Linked DNA regions of Homo sapiens: all the other regions are linked to region 2. The links are contacts of gene promoters, found by promoter capture Hi-C in human tissues and cell types (Jung and others, 2019). All regions are on one chromosome and are shown on one strand. Each heading gives the region's core, a stretch centred on a gene start or on the middle of the fragment in contact. The rest is flanking DNA. Distances are from core to core; before and after follow the strand shown.

Region 1 (3,505 bases), core at 82-2,581, 670 kb before region 2:
GTATTTCTTTCTAAATATTAGAATACATACACCATGTGTATATGTATCATATATACATATTATATATATGTGTATATATATATATAATGCAAAGAAAGAAAAGCGTGCAGGATTTTATTCTTCCTTTATCTACTAAAAGCCCATAGACATTCCACTTATATATCACAAGATTTCAGCATTTCAGTATTATTCTCAATTCATTTGAGAAAACATCACTGAAATTCTGTATGCAGACAAGCAAACATGCTATGTTCTTCTAAATCTAATTACTCAAATCTTCATTAATACAAGTAAAGTAGCACAAAGGGAGCAGCAGTATTCAATTAAAATAATTATGAAGGCTAGAGCTCCCCTTGATAGAGCACAAACAATTATATATACAGGTTTTCTGTGCAATTAATACATATATCCCCATGGTAAACCTGAAAACCATAATACAAACTGCACAGAGCTGAACAACTCTAGGCACAAAATCTAACAACCTCTGATGTAAATAGGGCTTTTAAAATTTATTTTTATTTCAACAGGTTTTTGAGGACCAGGTAGTGTTGGGTTACATGAATTTCTCTAGTGGTGATTTCCAAGATTTTGGTGCATCCATCACCCAAGCAGTGTACACTGTACCCAATGTGTAGTCTTTTATCCCTCACCCCACTCCCACCCTTTCCTCCCAGTCCCCAAAGTTCATTTTATCATTCTTATGCCTTTGCATCCTCAAAGTTTTTCTCCCACTTATGAGTGAGAACATACGATGTTTGTTTCCCCATTCCTGGGTTACTTCACTTAGAATAATAGTCTCCAGTTCCAGCCAGGTTGAAGTGAATGCCATTATTTCGTTTCTTTTTATGGCTGGGTAGTATTTTATGCTATTTATATACCACATGTTCATTATCTACTCATTGCTTGATGGGCATTTGGGCTGGTTCCATATTTTTGCAATTGCAAACTGTGCTACTATAAACATGCTTATGCATGAATCTTTTCATATAATGACTTCTTTTCCTCTGGGTAGATATCCAGTAGTGGGAATGCTGGATCAAATGGTAGGTCTAATTTTAGTTCTTTAAGGAATCTCCACACTGTTTTCCATAGTGGTTGTACTAGTTTACATTCCCACCAACTTTGTAAAAGTGTTCTCATTTCATTACATCCATGTCATCTATTATTTTATGATGCTTTGATTATGATCATTCTTGCAGAACTGAGGTGGTATCACATTGTCGTTTTGATTTGCATTTCCCTGGTAATTAGTGATGTTGAGCATTTTTTCCATATGCTTCTTGGCCATGTGTATACCTTCTTTAGAGAATTGTCTATTCAAGTCCTTAGCCCACTTTTTGATGGGATTGTTAATTTTTTTCTCACTGATTTGTTTGAGTTATTTGTAGATTCTGCATATTAGTCCTTTGTTGGATGTATACATTGTGAAGATTTTCTCGCACTCTGTGCGGTGTCTGTTAATTCTGCTGATTATTTCTTTTGCTGTGCAGAAGCTTTTTAGTTTAATTAAGTCTCGTCTATTTATCTGTGTTTTTGTTGAATTTGCTTTTGAGTTCTTGGCTATAAAGTCTTTGCCTAAGCCAATGTCTAAAAGGATTTTCCCAATGTATCTTCTAGTATTTTTATGGTTTCAGGTCTTAGATTTAAGTTTTTAACTCATCTTGAGTTAATTTTTTGTAAAGTGCGATATGAGAACCCAGTTTCTTTCTTCTACATGTGGCTTGCCAATTATCCCAACACCGTTTATTGAATATGGTGTCCTTTCCCCACTTAGTGTTTTTGTTTGCTTTGTCAAAGACCAGTTGGCTGTATTTGGGCTTATTTCTGGGTTCTCTGTGCTGTTCCAGTGGTGTATGTGCCTATTTTTACACCAGTGTCATGCTGTTTTGGTGACTATGGCCTTTTAGTATAGTTTGAAGTCAGATAATGTGATGCCTCCGGATTTGTTCTTTTTGCTTAGTCTTGCTTTGGCTGTGAGTCTCTTTTTTGGTTCCATATGAATTTTAGGATTGTTTTTCCTAATTTTGTGAAAAATGATGGTGGTATTTTGATAGGAATTGCATGAATTTGTAGATTGCTTTTGGCAGTATGGTCATTTTCACAATATGGATACCACCCATCTGTGAGCATGTGACGTGTTTCCATTTCTTTGTGTCATCTGTGATTTCTTTCGGTAATGTTTTGTAGTTTTCCTCGTAGAGGTCTTTCACCTCCTTGGTTAGGTATATTCCTAAGTATTTTTTTTTTTTTGGCAGCTATTGGAAAAGGGATTGAGTTCTTGATTTTATTTTCAGCTGGTCACTGTTGTTGTATAGCAGAGCTACTGATTTGTGTAAGTTAATTTTGTATCTTGAAACTTTGCTGAAATTCATTTATCAGTTCTAGGAGCTTTCTGGGTGTCTTTAGGGTTTTCTAGGTAAGTGATCATATCATCAGTAAACAGCACCTGTTTGACTTCCTCTTTACCGATTTGGATGCCCTTGATTTCCTTCTCTTTTCTGACTGCTCTGGCTTGGACTTCCAGCACCATGTTGAATAGAAGTGTGAGAGTGGACATTCTTCTCTTGTTCCAGTTCTCAAGGGAAAATTTTCAACTTTTCCCCATTCGGTATTATGTTGGCTGTGGGTCTGTCACAGATGGCTTTTATTACATTAAGGTAATAATTCCACTTATATGAAAACTCTTTTTTAAAAAAATCAAACTCATAGAAACAGAGAGTAGAATGAGGTTGTCAGTGGCTGAGGGGTTAGGTAATTGGGGAGATGTTGTTAAAGGGTACAAACTTTCAGTTATAACATGAAAGTACAAACTTTCAGTTGTAAGTTCTGAGGGTCTACCGTACAGCATGGTGACTGTAGTTAATAATATTATATTCTATACTTGAAATTTGTTAAGGTAAAAGAGTAGATCTTCAGTGTTTTCACCAAAGGAAACAAAACATAACTATGAGAAGTGATGGATGCATGGTCATCATTTCACAATGTATAGGTACATAAAATTATCACATTGTAAACTTTAAATATATGCAATTTAATTTATCAGTTATACTTCAATGAAGGTAAAAAAATTAAAATTTTTAATTACAAAAACACTGAGTAACTAGAAGAAGCAATAAAGACTGGAAATCAAAAATAGAGAAAATTAATAAAGCCTAATGTAAGTTTGAAAAAATAAAATCAATTGATCAAAAAAAGGAAAAGAAAAGTAGATTCCTAACATTAAGAATGAGTGTGTTCCTACATATATCACAGATACCAAACTATAACAAGAAAATACTATAAATGCCAATAAATTTAACAACTTAGAAATATTGGACAAATTTCTTGAAAAATGCTAATTAGCAAAACTTATACAAAATGAAATAAAAAATATCGGTTGCCCTAATAATTTTCAAAAAAGTTTCTATTTGTTATCAGAAACCTTCCCACAAAAAATTACCAGGTATATATGTGCTTATTAGTAAATTCTACCAAAAATTATAGAAGAAAAATTACAAAATGTATG
Region 2 (3,344 bases), core at 825-3,324:
TACTTACAAGGGGTAAGCTAAGGTTAAAACCTAGATTTTCCTCACTCACAAGCTGTGCTTTTAATCACCTTCCCTCCCCTCAAATCACCTAACAATCCAACAACAAGATTTCTATGTGCCCAATTATTGGTACCTACCCAACAGGATAATCAATTCCAACAACACACTTTAAAAAAATTAATTTGAGAGGAAAAAAGTATCTGAGGTTTGGCTCATTAAAATAAATGAGAAAAATTCCTCTCTAGTCTCCTGGTGAGGAATCTAATTGGAGGCAGAGCTGACATTTTAAGTCATGGCTCTTCAGGTACAAAATAACAAGGAATGCCCCAACTGACCCTGTATGGACAGATACTGAAATTGTCTCTCAAAGCAGCAGATTCTGGTCTGCCAGAAGAGGCCATGAAAAGAGAGAGAGAGAGAGAGAGAGAGAAACAGGAATGTTGCTGGACGTTTCTATCATCACTTACCTTCAGTTCACCCCTCTCTTTTCAATTACATCTCAGCATCATGGTTGGATGTTTCCACCTGGCTACATAAGCAAGCTTTACACAAGGTGTAATTTGCCTAAATAGTGGTCCATTCTATTGGGGTGGGAGCAATTGCTTCCAGGACTCACATCCATATGGCTCCCACTTAGCCATGTGGCCTGCTGACAAAGGGTGGCGGAACTGTCACTACTCTGTTGTCCACGCTTTCAGTCCTTTGGTTTCCTCTTCACTCCCTGGACGCTCATGTAAAAAGGGAGGCCATATACCTGTGCATTGTGTGTCTAAGCATTCAGTGTGTGTCTAAAGGCAGAAGGGTGTGGGTAGGAAAACAAAGACGAGGGAAGCTGCGTTCTCCAAACACTTCAGACTTGAGTAAGTGGGGTTTTGCAGCAATTGAGTGATTTGAGGGAAAGTGAACATACAAACCCAAGCAATCAAAGGGAATATTATCTTAATACCAGGGATACATGTTTTTCTTTCTGCCTCTTAAGTCCAAAGAGGCAAATCAGGACAAGTGGCTTTGGTTGTAAACTTTAAGGTCAAGGATCCTTTCTGTTGAGCTTAGCTCTCAAGTTCTCAGTAGTCAACTGCGGTGAAACATAATTAATAGCACGATAAATACAAGTTGTGGAAGATTCGATTGAAAGTTGGAGGCCCTCTCCGTGGATCTCTCTACAAAGAGCCTGTAATAAAGAGGACTTAATCAACGTTAGCAGGGCTATTTAAAAAGCATCGTCTATTAAAATTCATTTCTTCTCTAGAGCCTCTTGTTGGAGTTTCTCTGTGTGGGTGTGTTCGTAAGAGAGGAATGGGTTAGCAAGAGTACTGGGTACAATTTGTGTATCCAAGAGAAAACAGAAGCTCTCAATGAGGAAGAACATATGTTTCTGGGACTGCATCTGTGCAAAAAGTACATAGTCCTGACGTTGTACTAAGAAAAAAAACACTCTCTTTAGAAAGTCTTTTATTTCACACGTTATCTTCTTGGCACATTTCCCTCATATTGCCCTTTCCGCCTGACCAAATAGCCCTTTCTCACCCTCAGGTCCAGGAAAACCAGGAAACGTTTCCAACAGTGCGACAAAGCCTGACTAACCAGACATACTACTCGCTCGGGGATCCCGGAGGCAAGCCTCAGTCCAAGAACAGGAGTGACTCTCGAGGGCTCACCTGCCTGCAGGGCAGCCCCTCCCTGCATCGAGCGGAAATCCATCCTGTCCAGCGCGGGGCGTGGGCAGAGCGGGGCGCGGCCCCGGCAGGCGGTATCCGCTGGGACTCCGACAACGTGCGCGACCCCAGGCGAACCGCGCCCCTCTCCCCACCTCCCCGCGGGCGGGTACAAGTCTCCAGGTGTCCGCGCGCTCAGCGGGTCCGGCCCGCCCCCGCCCCCGCCCCCGGGCCCGACTGCGCGTGCCCGGCCGGAGCCGCGCCCCCTCCTCAGGGAAGGCCGGGCGTCCGGCCCACGAGGCCGAGCTCCCCCCCGGCCCGGGCCTCTCACCGGCGCGGGGGGCGGGCCAGGGGCGGGGCCGGACTCGAGCGGGGCGGGGCTCGCGCCAGCGCCCCCAGCTCCGTGGCGGCTTCGCCCGCGAGTCCAGAGGCAGGCGAGCAGCTCGGTCGCCCCCACCGGCCCCATGGCAGCCCCCGGCGCCCCAGCTGAGTACGGCTACATCCGGACCGTCCTGGGCCAGCAGATCCTGGGACAACTGGACAGCTCCAGCCTGGCGCTGCCCTCCGAGGCCAAGCTGAAGCTGGCGGGGAGCAGCGGCCGCGGCGGCCAGACAGTCAAGAGCCTGCGGATCCAGGAGCAGGTGCAGCAGACCCTCGCCCGGAAGGGCCGCAGCTCCGTGGGCAACGGTGAGTGGAGCCCGCCGCTCCCCGGCGCCGCCCCCTGCCCCACACCCGGTCACCTCCTCCTATCCCGCCCTCACCCCGCGTGCTGGGAGTGCGGGACCCCGTGTTCTGCCCACCTGTTGCTCGCCGTCTTCGGTATGACCGACTTGCTTGTGGAAAGCACTCTTTTCCATAACCTATTACTCAGCTTTGTCATATAGGTACCTATGTATATTAAATATTGTACATATCTATCAATGTTAACTAACTCACTTCAAGATTTCACCCCTTTCTTTTTCTACTCCGCCGGTCCGCGCCCCTCACTGGTGCGGACTTAATTTGAAGGTTCAGGGAGTCTATAAACACCTTGAGATGCTATGCAGAATTTTTGGTGTGTACGATCTTTTTCTGGGAGAAGGAGCCCTTCAATTTTATTAGATTTGTTAAATAATTAATGACCCCCATAAATATCTTGGGGAAAAAAACCGACAGCACTGGCGCTCCTACAACCTATAAATTGGGATTGTGCTGTCTTATGCAAGTACTTCGGGGCGCTCCACCCTGTGTGGGAGGCGAGTGGTGGATCTAGGGAGTGAAGAAAAGTAGTTAGGAGGCTTTGGTCCAGGGAACAAACACGCCGAGGAGGAGGTAGGGGACTTTGGCCCTGCCGGCAACAGCCGTGCCCGCCTAGCTGCGCTTCCTACCCCCACCAGTGCGGGCGTGATGCAAGTCTGATCCCTCCAAAAAATTAAACCCGAAGGTGAAAGGGGTGTAAGCACACACATGCACACTATGTTCATGATTGATAGACGGGGGAGGTGGAAGGGAAAGAAGATGGCAAGCCACTTGTGAAAATTAGAGATCATGATGTATCCTTTTCTCCCCTGCTGAAGTCAGGTGATGGGATCAACTCAGTGACCCTTGTTTTACTTCTTGTTGCTGTGTATGTGAGTTTGCATTATAAAAGCACTATGTTGGCTTATAGCAAAAAGAAGAGGAAAGAAATTGAGCAATTAAGTTGGAATA
Region 3 (3,409 bases), core at 835-3,334, 540 kb before region 2:
TTGGCTATTACTAGGAAAGATATTCTACTAAGTTGTGTATGACATATAAAGACAAGATTGCTATACGTTTTTCATTTGCGAATCCAAGCAACAGTTAGAAGTAAAATACTTTAATCTGCAAATAGACACTCAAAGTTAATAGATATCTATGAAGTGGATTTAAAGATTGTTTGCCAAATATTTAATTATATTTCTTAGCCACCCAGCGTCACACTGTTCTTTAAAGTAGATTTTCTTATAACTTGTGCTCTCATGCTTGTTATTATAGGTTCCTAAATAAAGCACTTCCAGTGATCCTTCTACTCATCGTTTAATGAGAAGGCCATTTTTGGTAGGAAGACATCAACAATGTTGAATGGCACAGTGCTTATTTACTTTGAAAGTTAATCAGCACTGCCCAGATGGTATTGGTTGTTCTAACATTACAGTGATAATTACAAGCTCCAAAATTGTGTATATTTTTAATTCCTTCACATAGAGATAGTGGGAGAGAAATTCAGGTAATTCCAGTTAAAATCATTCTACATGAAGGGAGCTACAAATCATGTATATATGTAAGATATTATCTTACGGGTTTTGCAAATGCCAGTGAAGTGCAAGTATCACCATTATTTTTACCATATCAGCAGTAGCAGAAGCAGCAGCAGTATTGTTGCCATTGAGGATCTCACAGTCACAATATGATCACAACATGACTGATCTCATACTTTAATAAAATTGGTGAAGACTTACACTAAAGTTGCCAACACAAGTTCATTTACTCTTTTGGCGTAGTTTATCGGAGTCATTATATGTGCCAGCATTACTAATATTCTAGAAAGTTCACCACGTGCACTTTTTAGAATATCAGATATTTTGAGTCTTTTTACCATGGATTCTCTCTTTCTCCCGAAATAGATATGTCACCCACTAAATTAATCTCAATGCACAATATGATTTAATATTAGAATGCTTAGGGAAAATACAAAGCAACATATTGGACCCAAAAGTTATTTTTCAGGCATACTGTGACTGAATATATATAATCGTTTTTAAACTGGATTTAGCTTAATTTCTGATTACTCCTTAATTGCTGCTCAAATGCTCATCAATTTCAAGGAACCTATGTTGCTTAAAAGGCAGACGTCATAAATCACAGCTAATCAATCCCACTTAAGCTCACAGTCACTTGAGCTCACATCACAATTGTATAGCTCTAAGCTTAATTTAAAGATTTTCATAAGCATTTCATTCATCAATGTTCTAATTTTGCATGTTTACACAATTTTAATTTGGGACTAAAAATTCTAAAATAAAAATTTAGACAAATTCTTCTAAATTCATACATATGTTCTTCAGTTTCTTAGAGGTAGGGATAAAAGTAGGTATATGGGAAATAATTTTATTAAAGTACTTAACTGACAAGAAAAGGGATAGTTAAGTAAAATTATAAGAATTACATCATAATTTCCCTCTAAGATCAAGGCATAGTGGGTCTATGATAAAGGTTTAAAATTAGTAGAGGGACTTCATAGTAGAGGGACAAAGCAAATGACTACCCAATTAATTGAGTTATCATTTTTTAATCACCATAACAGGGTTTTACACATCCTAGTGATTGTATAAAGAATTCCAATTCACAAACATATTATCAGTAGAATTTTTTCCTTGAGACTTGTAGGTCTATAAAAGAATAATGGAGCCACAGTGAATTCAGAATGATAGGCCTGTTTGAAGAAGAATATATAAGAGGATATTTTTCCTTCCTCCACATTGTCACTCCACTGAAGAGTGGCCAACTTCTACTATGTCTAGTCTCATTGTCACATGATCATCAATACACCTTGTGCTTGGTCTGATTTACTTCAAATGCAAATGGAGACCTATCTTCAAAGCCAAGAAGATCTCAGCAAACATTTATTCTTCTTAAATCCCAGTATGTTAGCAGTATTGGCAGGAATTTCTTTTTGCTTTAACCTTTTCTTTTTCCTTTGTGACAAATTAAAAGCTGTATTTCCTTTTTCTATGAACTGTGAGTCTCTGACATCTAATTCTTATGAATGATTTTGTATACCAAGCTCAAATCACATTTTTAAAAAAACAGTCATTACTGTAATACTGGCTTTTTGAAAAAATTGGTAATTGTTTGAGATGCATCTGCATTCATTTACAAGCTTTTTTAAATACAAAATTCTGGCAGAAGACAATCATTACCATAAATGTTTAATGTAATTTCCAATGCCAATGAAAATCATTTCTATTTTGAACATGTGATTATATTCTTCCCAATCTACATTTTATTCCACTAACGTTGTACACATTAAGTCAATAGCATGTCAGCTCTTTGAGGTCAGGGGCTTGTTTATTGTTTTATCTTCAGTGCCTTGAAAAATCTGTGGTTCATACTAGCTACTTTATTTATTTACTATTTTTATTTTATTTTTTTGAGATGGAGGTTCACTGTTGTTGCCCAGGCTGGAGTGCAATGGCGGGATCTCAGCTCATCACAACCTCCGCCTCCCAAGTTCAAGCGATTCTCCTGCCTCAGCCTCCCAAGTAGCTGGGATTACAGGCATGTGCCACCACGCCCAGCTAATTTTGTATTTTTAGTAGAGTCGGGGGTTTTCTCCATGTTGGCCGGGCTGGTCTCCAACTCCCGACCTCAGGTGATCCGCCCACTTCTGCATCCCAAAGTGCTGAGATTACAGGCGTGAGCTACTGCACCTGGCCCAATTAATATTTTTTAAATGAATGAATGAATCAAGGGATTTATTATCAAGAAGCTTCAACTTTATTATTTGTAAGATAATGAGTCTTACTTAATAACCTCCAAATCTCTTCTGCAACTAAATTGTATACATCTGTATTTTTGTGTCACCAGTATCTAATACAATATCCTATATAGACATACAAAATATCTAGTTTATGATAATAGCAGAAATTAGAGCACTTACAACATTAAAAAGCTAGAATTCAGTCAGCAATATACTCATGAAAAAGCAACTGAACTTGATATAGGTATCCATTGATTTTCTTCAGAGTGTGTTCAACTGGATCTGTAATTCCATGGCTAAATTTGTAAGTGTTGCATAAAGCACTGAGTCTACAAGTTCTAGAATCTCTGTTCAATATATTCATGTATGGCAGTAAAAGGAAAGCATGTTAGTGTGCTAAGTAGAAAGTGGCAGGAGAAAAGTAACTATCTCATGATTCAAATTGCTGTTAATCATTCCAGTTGAAAGTAGGAATCATCACTTTGCAGATGTGAAAACTAAGGCAAAGAAATTTAACCTCCCTTCAAATCATCACTAGTTAGTGATGGAGATAGGCTAAGAAACCAGGGCTTCTTAGATTTTAGCCTAGGTTTAACAAAGAGTAGGAATAGGAAGAGGAGATTCTGGGGGCGTCCTTGGCGCTGAAGGGCATTGGA
Region 4 (3,326 bases), core at 331-2,830, 590 kb before region 2:
TGGGGGTTATTTTCTAATCTTGTAAGTGTGCTTCACTCTTTTTTTATTCTTTTTTTGGTCTCCTGTGACCTTATTTTTAATACCTGTATTCAGGCTCACTAATTCTTTCTTCTGCTCGATCAATTATGCTGTTGAGACTCTGATGCATTCCTCAGTTTATTAACTGAATTTTTCACCTCAAGAATTTCTGCTTGATTCTTTTTAATCATCTCAATAGCCTTATTAAATTTATCTAATAAGATTCGGAATTCCTTCTCTGTGTTGGATTTTATTGAGCTTCTTCAAAACAGCTATTTTGAATTCTCTGTCTGAAAGGTCACATATCTCTGTCACTCCAAAACTGGTCATTGTTGCCTTATTTAGTTCACTTGATAAGGTCATGTTTTCCTGGATAGTCTTGGTGATTATCATTGTTTATTGATATCTGGGCACTGAAGAGTTAGAAATTTATTCTAATCTTCATAGTCTTGACTTGTCTGTACCAGTCCTTCTTGAGAAGGCTTTCCAAGTGTTCAAAGGGAATTGATTGTTGTGGTCTAAGTCTTTAGTCACTGCAGCCATATGTGCATTAGGGCATAACCCAAGCCCAGTAATACTGTGACTCTTGTAGACTCATAGAGGTACCACTTTGGTGGTCTCAGGCAAGAGCTAGGAGAATTCCTGGATTCCCATGCATTGCCTCTTCTTCTCTTCCCTTACTTCCCCTCAAACAAATAGTGTCTCTCATTCTCCATGCTCAGTTGCCTGTAGTTGGAGGAGGGAAAATACAAGCACTCCCATGGCCATCACCACTAAGACTGTACTCGGTCACACCTCAAGGCAGCACAGTACTGGGTCTCACTCAAGGCCTGTGACAACTACAATATGGCTACCACTGAAGTTTATTAAAGACCCATATGCTCTTTAGTCAGAAGGTGATGAGTCCTGCCAGGCCTGGGTCTCTCCCTTTAGGGCTGGTTCTCTTCTGACCCAAGTTAGATCTAGAAATCCCCTCCAGGAGCTATGGCATATCATCAGGGACTTTAGGAGTCTGCTTGGTGCTTTATTGTACTGTCCTGAGCTGGCACCCAAGTTGCAAGACAAAGTCTTTTTTACCCTTCCCACTCCTTTCCTCAAAAAGAAAGAGTATGTCCCTGTGGCTACCAGAGCTGAAAATGTGCTGGATTAGATCTGAATCTAGCACAATACTGAATCTTGTCCAACATCCATGGCAACCGCTTTCTGACTACTGCTGATATTTATTCCAGGATCAAGGGTTCTCTAGTCAGCGGGTGGTAAATTTTGCCAGGACTGAATCCTTCCCCTCAGGGCCAGGGAATTCTGGCCCAAGGTGGGCCTAGAAAGGTCATCCAGGAGCTGTGCCTGGAATAGGGGCCTCAGGACTCTCCTTGGTCCCTTATTTTATTGTGGCTGAGCTGGTATCCAAATTGCAAGACAAAGTCCTCTTTATGCTTCCCTCTCCTCCTGGAGCTGCAAGCTGTGCTACCTGAAGTTGAGGGATGGGTGACACAAGCACTCCCTTGGCTATCACAATTGGTGCCTCAGTGGGTCATATGCAGGCCAAGTCTACTATTTTCAGGCCCAGAACAGTACCAGGACTTGCCCAGGAATTGCCATCCTTGTGGCCTAGGCTGCCTTTCAAGTTTATTTAGAACCCCAGAGCACTTTAGCCGGTGGTGGTGGAGCTAGCCAAAACTTAGGTTCTGACTGCTGGAATGGAAGATTTCCCTCTGGCTATACCTGGTCTAAATGCTCCTTCTGTGGATGCCATCCAAATTCTGCCCTGTATTGCTTTCTGCTGTGACAAGGCAGCATGGAGTTCCAATGCAAAGTCTCACAATCACTGTGCTCTCTCTCCGGTAAATACATAGATTCTCTCTCTGCACTGCAGAGTTGCTGCCAGCGGTTAAGGGAAGGTTTGTGTAGGTGATTCAAGACTGTCTTTCCTACCCTCTTTGGTGCCTCTTTCCTTAATATGATGTGAAAATCAGGTAATGTGATTGCTCTCCTGACTTTTGGTTCTTATGCAGATGCTTTCTTGTGTGGATAGTTGTTTAATTTGGTGTTTCTCTGGCAGGTGGGGGACAATTGCTGAAAATTCTATTTAGCCATCTTGCTCCACCTCCCTCCCATACTTTTCTCTTTGATTTGTTAATGTGGGGAATTACAATAATATGTTGTTTTTCATAATGTTAAATCATTCTTCCATTCCTAAAGTAAATTTAACTTGGTACAGTTGAGTTTTCCTTTTCACTTATTACTGGTTTGTTTATATTTTCCTTTGGATAATTGGACCTACCGTAATGATTAATTTTAGCCTACAATTTTTACATGTCATGCTCTCTGTATATGGTTTTGCTGGCAAGGTTATACTGAATTTGTAAAATAATATGAGAGTATTTTCACTTTTTAAAATATCCAGAATATATAGTAATTTTTGAATTAAATAGTGTATTTTTTAGTTTCTTGATTTTTTGGTCTTCCTTTAAATAGTGTGAAACTTTATCAGTCAGTTAAGCTTGATCCTTTTGTTTGTTTTTCACTTTGCTAGAGAGAGACTAGTGCTGCCTTTTCTCTGACATCAGTTTAGTCTTACTGCAAGGCTGGGCCCTTCTGGGACCAAGGTTCAGAAAGTGCCTTCAGACAGAAACATAAAGTATTCTTTGCAACTCACCTCATTACTATTTTCTCTCAGGGAGAATAGTCCTTTGATGCCTGTTGCCTAATGTCTGAAAATCACTGTTTGATGTACAGTCATGCATTGCTTAGTAATGAGGATATGTTCTGAGAAATGTGTTGTCTGGTGATTTTTCTTGTTTGAGCATTATCAGGTGTACTTACACAAACCTAGACAGTCTAGCCTACTACACGTCTAAGCTATATGATGTAACTTATTGCTCCTAGGCTACAAACCCATAAAGCATGTCACTGTACTAAATACTGTAGGCAATTGTAACACAATGTCAAGTATTTGCATATCCAAACATATAAAGGTGCAATAAAAATACAATATTATAATCTCATGGGACCACTGTCATATATACAATCTGTCATTGACTGAAACATTATAATATAGCATGTGACTGCATTTTGTTTTATTTTCCAGTTTTTATTTTTATTTTTATTTTTTGCAATAGGAAGGCAAGTCTAGTACCAGCTATTCGGACATGCCAAAAGTTGAAATTTCCTGTTTCATTAAATTTTATGTTTATATTTTCCTTTTCCTTCTATTATTGCATTTGTTGTGTTCTCTTTTTCTAGCTTCTTAGGTTAGATGCTTAACTTATAGAATTTGAGTATTTATTCTTGTCTTTTATATGCATTGA

The links. The method cuts DNA at HindIII sites, captures the fragments that hold promoters and counts their contacts. A contact is called where the count stands out against the background at its distance.
Region 1: a fragment that was not itself captured here is called in contact with the fragment with the promoter of PKP2 in region 2 in 1 of the 25 tissues and cell types used here (spleen).
Region 3: a contact is called between a fragment that was not itself captured here and the fragment with the promoter of PKP2 in region 2, in 3 of the 25 tissues and cell types used here (dorsolateral prefrontal cortex, mesenchymal stem cells and neural progenitor cells).
Region 4: a contact is called between a fragment that was not itself captured here and the fragment with the promoter of PKP2 in region 2, in 2 of the 25 tissues and cell types used here (mesenchymal stem cells and stomach).

Annotation. Positions count from the first base shown.
Region 1 is chr12:33,568,332-33,571,836 of GRCh38, reverse strand. No RefSeq gene overlaps it. Among named protein-coding and RNA genes, the nearest start is that of SYT10, 130 kb to the right of the region's middle. The HindIII fragment of the contact is 6,824 bases long and covers 1-3,505 here.
Region 2 is chr12:32,895,507-32,898,850 of GRCh38, reverse strand. It overlaps PKP2 (plakophilin 2), which reads left to right and starts at 2,074. Exons shown (of 13, transcript NM_001005242.3): 1 at 2,074-2,342. The coding sequence starts at 2,120. RefSeq lists silencers at 1,666-1,765, 1,966-2,075. The HindIII fragment of the contact is 8,511 bases long and covers 1-3,344 here.
Region 3 is chr12:33,433,822-33,437,230 of GRCh38, reverse strand. The region is part of intron 1 of SYT10 (synaptotagmin 10); the gene reads left to right. Among named protein-coding and RNA genes, the nearest start is that of SYT10, 4.3 kb to the left of the region's middle. The HindIII fragment of the contact is 3,485 bases long and covers 342-3,409 here.
Region 4 is chr12:33,487,651-33,490,976 of GRCh38, reverse strand. No RefSeq gene overlaps it. Among named protein-coding and RNA genes, the nearest start is that of SYT10, 49 kb to the right of the region's middle. The HindIII fragment of the contact is 3,024 bases long and covers 69-3,092 here.